Regions from separate parts of the Homo sapiens genome. Here region 2 is linked to region 1. Evidence: promoter capture Hi-C in 16 types of primary human blood cells and fetal thymus (Javierre and others, 2016). All regions are on one chromosome and are shown on one strand. The core of a region is centred on a gene start or on the middle of the fragment in contact, and the rest is flanking DNA. Distances in the headings are between cores, read along the strand shown.

The links. The method cuts DNA at HindIII sites, captures the fragments that hold promoters and counts their contacts. A CHiCAGO score of 5 or more calls a contact.
Region 2: a contact is called between a fragment that was not itself captured here and the fragment with the promoter of NUP214 in region 1, in 1 of 17 cell types (endothelial precursors). The highest score is 7.0, in endothelial precursors.

The regions. Positions count from the first base shown.
Region 1 is chr9:131,124,004-131,127,780 of GRCh38, forward strand. NUP214 (nucleoporin 214) reads left to right here and starts at 1,583. Exons shown (of 36, transcript NM_005085.4): 1 at 1,583-1,746; 2 at 3,521-3,716. The coding sequence starts at 1,702. It also overlaps the pseudogene RNU6-881P. RefSeq lists an enhancer at 1,482-1,781. The HindIII fragment of the contact is 3,004 bases long and covers 1,551-3,777 here.
Region 2 is chr9:131,327,240-131,331,016 of GRCh38, forward strand. All of the region lies in intron 1 of LOC105376299 (a long non-coding RNA gene), which reads left to right. Among named protein-coding and RNA genes, the nearest start is that of PLPP7, 39 kb to the left of the region's middle. RefSeq lists an enhancer at 2,888-3,777. The HindIII fragment of the contact is 2,522 bases long and covers 756-3,277 here.

The DNA of each region.
Region 1 (3,777 bases), core at 333-2,832:
ATATTTTTTTTTTTTTTTTTTTTTTTTTCTGAGACAGAGTCTCACTCTGTCACCCAGGCTGGAGTGCAGTGGCACAATCTTAGCTCACTGCAACCTCCACCTTTTGTGTTCATGCGATTCTCCTGCCTCAGCCTCCTGTATAGCTGGGAACACAGGCGTCCGCCACCACACCCGGCTAATTGTTGTATTTTTAGCAGAGACGGGGTTTCACCATGTTGGCCAGGCTGGTCTCGAGCTCCTGACCTCAGGTGTTCCACCCACCTCGGCCTCCCAAAGTACTGTGGTTACAGGCGTGAGCCACTGCTCCCAGCCTATTTTTATTTACTTTTTTTTTTTTTTTTTTTTTGAGACGGAGTCTCGCTCTTTCGCCCAGGCCAGACTGCAGTGGCGCTGTCTCTGCTCACTGCAACCTCCGCCTCCCGGGTTCACGCCATTCTCCTGCCTCAGCCTCCCGAGTAGCTGGGACTACAGGTGCCCGCCACCGCGCCCGGCTAATTTTTTGTATTTTTAGTAGAGTCGGGGTTTCACCGTGTTAGCCAGGATGGTCTCCATCTCCTGACCTCGTGATCCGCCCGCCTCGGCCTCGCAAAGTGCTGGGATTACAGGCGTGAGCCACCGCGCCCGGCCTTTTATTTACTTTTTGAGACAGGGCCTGGCTCTGTCACCCAGGCTGGAGTGCAATGGTGCAATCACAGCTCCCTGTAGCCTCAACCTCCTGGGCTCAGGCAATTCTCCCACCTCAGCCTCCCGAGTAGCTGAGACTACATACGCATGCCATCACTGCTGGCTAATTTTTGTGGTTTTGTTTTGTTTTTTATAGAGACGGGGTCTCGCCATGTTGCCGAGGCTGGTCTCAAACTCCTGGTCTCAAGCAATCCTCCTGTCTCCGCCTCCCAAGTGCTGGGATTATAGGCATGAGCCACCCGCGTCTCATCAATTAAATAAATAACCCCTAGGACGACTAAGATGTCTTCAAGATTACATGAGATCCCACATCTGAAGGTTTTTGCAAAGGACTTGGCACAAACTCGTGCGACTAGACATGGATATGGCTCTTGCTCTGGAAAGGATCACCTTGATAGGAGCAAACAAAGCTGGTCTTCGGTGCCCTTTAATCTCCCCTCCCAGCCTTCCACCTTCCACACTTTAAGAGTCGTCCCTGCCGACCCCCCGACCCCGTTTTTCTGAACCTCCCTTCCTCCCCTTGCATAGTCCAAAGCCTCTCTCTAAAGCAGCCCCCCGAAAACATCTGTCAAGTTCCAAACTTATCTGAATCGGAAGCTACCAATAGCCAACCTACATCTAAGGGGAACTGTAAGATTTCAGAAGAACAAGAAGCATAGGTCGCTTAGGCGTGGGCCACCCAAGAAGAGAGACTTAACACTAGGTAAGCCCGCGCTGGCTGCGAAGGCGGGAGCGGCACCAGGACCATCCAGGGCGCAGGCGCAGGGACCTCACGGCCACGCCACTACTCAGCCCGAGCTGGCCAATGGGGAGCGGCGGCCGGAAGAACGCGCGGCTTCGCTAGGTTCCGCGGCTTCCTCTGACCAAGCTTGACGTCACCAAAGCGCGCCGGAAATGCGAGGTCAACTGCGCGCCGCTGGCGCTGAGGGGAGGAAGTTTGCTGTCGAGCGGCCTGGGTTCCGTGGGCAAGGCCGTGGGAGGCAGCGTTGGCTGCTTCGACACACTGAGGGCGGCGCGATGGGAGACGAGATGGATGCCATGATTCCCGAGCGGGAGATGAAGGTCAGAGACTAACCGGGGCCTCCCTCCCTTCTTTAGTCCTGGCGTTGCCTTGGAGCCCAGCTGAAAGGCGAAGCGCGGTGCTGGCTGTCCCGCCTCCTGCTTGAACAGTTTACCGCGTTCACAGCTCTCACCAGCGCGTCTGCCGCGCCGCTGGCGTGATAGCCCCACCGAATGCAGTTTCCCAGTCCCATCCTGGTCTCGTGCACGGCTGTTGAGTTACCCTAGCTACTTCCTGGGGCGGTCACAATAGTGGCAATAACTGCTGTTTATTGAGTGTTGACTGTGTGCCAGGCACTGTGGTAGTCATCGCGGCAGCCCTACGAAGTAGTCGTTAACGTAGAGGAGTAAGTTGAGGCTCGGAAAGTAATTTCCCTAAAGTCACATTTGACGCGGGGCTGAAAGCCAGCATCATTTAAGACCTTTGCTCTCCCAGTACTTCTGTAAGGTGATACGGGCTTGCCTAACGTAGAGTCAGGGAAGGTCATCCATCCTGCAGAACCTTTAGTTGATTGGACTAGGAAGACTATTTTGACCTCGGTATATCAGCCTAAAGTCAGGAACCTAAAGGGAGGGCCAAGTGGTCCCAGTGATAGCAACGTGGGAGTCCCCCAGGGATAACTTCAGGATGGTGTGTTTAATAGTTCTTATATGGGTTCTGACAGAATGAGGGTACAACAGACGGGCTACATCTGTTTTAAATAGTGAAAAGAAGTAAGTTGCAGGAAGATTTTAGGCATCTGTGTGAACAATAAATCACTAAAATGCATTTAGGGCATAGTAATACCATGTTTAGAATAGTGATTTTTTTTTTTTTTTGAGACAGAGTCTTGCTCTGTCACCCAAGCTGGAGTGCAGTGGCATGATCTCGGCTCCCTGCAACCTCCACCTCCCCGGCTCAAGCGATTCTCCTGCTTCAACCTCCCTAGTAGCTGGTATTACAGGCGCCTGCCACCACGCCCCACTAATTTTTTATATCATTTGGTAGAGACTGGGTTTCACGATGTTGGCCAGGCTGGTCTCGAACTCCTGACCTAACGTGATCCGCCCTCCTCTGGCTCCCAAAGTGCTGGGATTATAGGCGTGAGCTACCGTGCTGTCCTAGAATAGTGATTATTTTTTGAGAATCACCACCTGTGGTGAGCCACCTAATGGGGTTGTGTCATATTCCTCAGATATGCTGGGGTAGAAGAAAAAAAGGTTTTATTAATAGAACCACAGACTTAGAAGATGGTAATCTCGCACTCCCTTTGGCAGCACATATAAAATTGGGATCATGCAGAGAAGACTATTATGGCCCCTTTACATGGATGACAGACAAATTCATGAAGTGTTCCATATCAGAAAAAAATGAGGGCCGAGTGTGGTGGCTCATGCCTGTGAGCTTGCACTTTGGGAGGCTGAGGTGGATGGATCACTTGAGGTCCGGAGTTCGAGACTAGCCTGGCCAACATAATGAAACCCTGTGTCTACTAAAAATACAAAAATTAGATGGCCATGGTGGCGGGTGCCTGTAATCCCAGCTACTTGGGAGTCTGAAGCAGGAGAATCGCTTGAACCTGGGAGGCAGAGGTTGCAGTGAGCCAAGATCGCTGCACTGCACTCCAGCCTGGACGACAGAGCGAGACTCCATCTCAAAAAAGAAAAAAAGACAATTGAGACAGACCTTGGTCTCAGTAATACATATTTTTGTTGTACTGAAATTGGGTCTACTGAATATAACATGTTTTAATTTCTTTCTTTATTGAATTGATCTCGTTTTGATTCTTCACAACAGGATTTTCAGTTTAGAGCGCTAAAGAAGGTGAGAATCTTTGACTCCCCTGAGGAATTGCCCAAGGAACGCTCGAGTCTGCTTGCTGTGTCCAACAAATATGGTCTGGTCTTCGCTGGTGGAGCCAGTGGCTTGCAGATTTTTCCTACTAAAAATCTTCTTATTCAAAATAAACCCGGAGATGATCCCAACAAAATAGGTAAGTTCCCTGGTTTATGTTGCAAAGTAGAGAGAGGAGTATGGTGGCATGCTCTTGTGTT
Region 2 (3,777 bases), core at 767-3,266, 200 kb after region 1:
TGCCAAGAGGCTTAATCACAAATTTATGTGAACTTCTAAAAATACTTCCTCAGCATCTATTAAAATGATCCTGTAGTTTTTCCTCCTTTCATCAGTTAATACGATAAGTAACACTGATAGACTTTTCTTTTTTTTTTTTTTTGAGACGGAGTCTTGCTCTGTCACCCAGGCTGGAGTGCAGTTGCACCATCACAGCCCACTGCAGCCTCAAACTCCTTGACTCAAATGTTCCTCCCACTTCAGCCTCCCAGGTAGCTAGGGTTACACGAGCATGCCACCATTCCAGGCTAATTTTTTTTTTTTCATTTTTTTAGAGACAGGAGTTTCACTGTGTTGCCCAGGCTGGTCTCAAACTCCTGGCCTCAAGCAGACCTCCCACCTCAGCATCCCAAAGTGCTGGGATTACTTGGTGTGAACCACCATGCCTGGCCCCACCCTTTCTATTATTGATAATGCTTTTAAAGTATAAGACAACTTTGCCTCATATCAAAATATATCTTTATATCTTTTTATATATATATATAATAGATAGATAGATAGATAGATAGATAGATAGATAGATAGGCTAGGCGTGGTAACTCACGCCTGTAATCCCAGCATTTTGGGAGGTTAAACGGGCAGATCACTTAAACTCAGGAGTTGGAGAGCAGCCTGGGCAACATGGTGAAACTATGTCTCTGAAAATTATTTTTAACCTTTTTGGATCCTTAAATTTTTGGTGAGCTCTCTTTTTGTGTGTGTGCAGATCTCTTTTAAGCTTCATCAATCTGGAATTTTTTTTTCCTACCCAGTCTCTGAATCTCTTACTTATTGATTTACAGACAGGGTCTCAGTCTGCCACCCAGGCTGGAGTGCGATGGTGCAATCACAGCTCACTGCAGCCTCCACCTCCCACTTCAGTCCCCTCTGTGCCTGGGACGACAGGCATGCACCACCATGCCTGGCTAATTTTTGGGTTTTTTGTTTGTTTTGTTTTGTTTGAGACAGGGTCTAGTTCTGCCACTCAGGCTGGAGTGCAGTGGCGTGACACAGCTCACTACAACTTCTGCCTCCTGGGCTCAAGCAATCCTCCCATCTTGCCTCCCGCGTAGCTGGGACTACAGGCATGCGCCACCACACCCAGCTAACTTTTGCAATTTTTGTAGAGACAGCGTTTTGCCATGTTGCCCAGGCTGGTCTCGAACTTGTGAGCTCAAGCAATTCACCCGCCTCAGCCTCCCAAAGTGCTGGGATTACAGGCATGAGCCCCCATGCCCAACCAGTTTTTTGGTTTTTGTTTTGAGACAAGGTCTAGTTCTGTCACTTAGGCTGGAGTGCAGTGGCATGACACAGCTCACTGCAATTTCTGCCTCCTGGGCTCAAGCAATCCTCCCGTCTTGCCTCCCACGTAGCTGGGACTACAGGCATGCACCACCACACCCAGCTAATTTTTGCAATTTTTGTAGAGACGGCATTTTGCCATGTTGCCCAGGCTGGTCTCAAACTCGTCAGCTCAAGCAGTTCACCTGCCTCAGCCTCCCAAAGTGCTGGGATTACAGGCGTGAGCCACAGTACCCAGCCAGTTTTTTGGTTTTTGTTTTGAGACAGGGTCTCGCTCTGTCACCCAGGCTGGAGTGCAGTGGCACAATCTCAGCTCACTGCAGCCTCGACTTCTGGGGCTCAGGTGATTCTCCCACCTCAGCCTCTTGAGTAGCTGGGATCACAGACGCACGCCACCATGCCCACCACGCCTGTGGCGGTGTTGCTGTGGGAACCTGGCCTCTGACCTCCCAGCCCACTGATACCTGCCAGGCCAGACCAGTTTCCTCCTCTCAGGACCTTTGGTTGGCCACTGCCCTGGGCCCAGATCCCACCTCTGTGCCCAGCACCTGACCACCCACGCTTTCTTCTTCAGCCACTGTGGAGCGGCTCACATTTCTTGATTTATCTCCTGTTTGAATTGGGGAGGGGGCCGTTTCCATGAACTCTCCTTTCCGTAAGACCAACAATGCTTCAAAAAATATGCTCATCCCGGGTCAGGTGGAGGGAGCAGGTGTGTCCCTCAGGGCTCCCACAGTCATGACTCAAAAGCTGAGGCCCCTGAAGCACTGAAATCTGAGCCACTCATGTGCAACTCAAAGCCGGTGCCCCTCCGCTGTTTCCCAGGCTTCTCACTGTTGGGTGACTCTGCTGTGACACCTTAGGGGCTGGTGATGTGTCGGGAGCTGTTTCCCCCCAAGCTGAGGGGCGTGGCTGGCTTTGTTTCTAGAGTCCTCCCGGTCCCCCTCAAAAGCCTCCCTGCACCAGCCTTGCTCCCAGACCCTCAGAAGTATGTGGTGCTGTGGCCTCTGCGTGCCTCGCTGGGCTGAGCCGGCACCACCTTCCCCGTCTGCTGCTTCTGGTTTACCAACGGCTGGAAAGACAAGGCTCCAGGCTCGAGGGTTTGTGCAAAGGGAAGTGGAGTCTACACAGGGTCTGGCAAGCTCCTCTGTGATCAGGGGGACCTTGGAGGGCATGGCACAGGCTGCTCTTTGCATCTTGCCTTGGCCATGAGTGGTTCATGAATCCATTTGAAGGCATGAAAATGTGGCACCAAGAATGCACATGTTGAGGTCAAACAGCCTGGGATCCAACCCTGTTCTTCTGCTTAGGCTGGTGTGACCCTAGACAAGTGATTTCATTCATCTAAGCCTCGGTTTCTTCATCTGTACCATGGGAATAACAACTGTATCTTGTTCTCAGAGTGCTGATGAGGATTGAGTGTGCTTATCCATGTAAAGAGACTGGCTATGCCTGCTGTTTATTCATTTACTTATTTATTGAGATAGGGTCTCACTGTGTCACCCAGGCTGGAGTGCAATGATGCAATCTCGGCTCACTGCAACCTCCATCTCCTGAGCTCAAGTGATCCTCCAACCTCAGCCTCCAGAGTAGCTGGGACCACAGACATGCGCCACCGTGCCTGGCTAATTTTTTGTATTTTTGGTAGAGATGGGGTTTTCAGGGAAGGTCTCGAACTCCTGAGCTCAAGCAATCCGCCCACCTCGGCCTCCCAAAGTGCTGGGATTACAGGCATGAGGCACCATGCCTGGCCACCTGCTGTTTAATTAGTGCTAAGTGTGTGTATGTGTGAGTGTGACTGTGTGTGTGTGTGCGTGTGCGTGTATGTGGCCCACAGAGAGAGTTTCAGCAGTACCCACCAGGGCCAGCTCTATACTAAGCCCTTGACACACACTGCCACATGAAGAAAGAGCTTCCAATATCTATCATTAAGGATGAGAAAATTGAGACTCAGCAAAGCTTACTGACTTTTCCAACATCCAACCCAGCCACCTGATTTGTGTCTCCAAATCCTCAACCACCCACTATCAAGCCTGACTCATCAAGTATTGCACGAGGGAAATGGATTTTCTACAAAATAAGAAAACCCAGGCTGAGTAGTGGCTCACACCTGTAATCTCAGCACTTTGGGAGGCCGAGGCGGGTGGATCACGAGGTCAGGAGATCGAGACCATCCTGGCCAACATGGTGAAACCCTGTCTCTACTAAAAATACAAAAATTAGCCAAGCATGGTGGTGCGCGCCTGTAGTCCCAGCTACTCGGAAGGCTGAGGCAGGAGAATCGCTTGAACCCGGGAGGCGGAGGTTGCAGTGAGCCGAGATCACACCACTTCACTCCAGCCTGGTGACGAGCGAGATTCCATCTCAAAAAAAAAAAAGAAAGCCTGAGCCTTCAGGCCTGCATTCTGGCTCGTTTATTCTTTCACCAGCTGGAGTCCTCCCCCGTGGCAGGTGCTG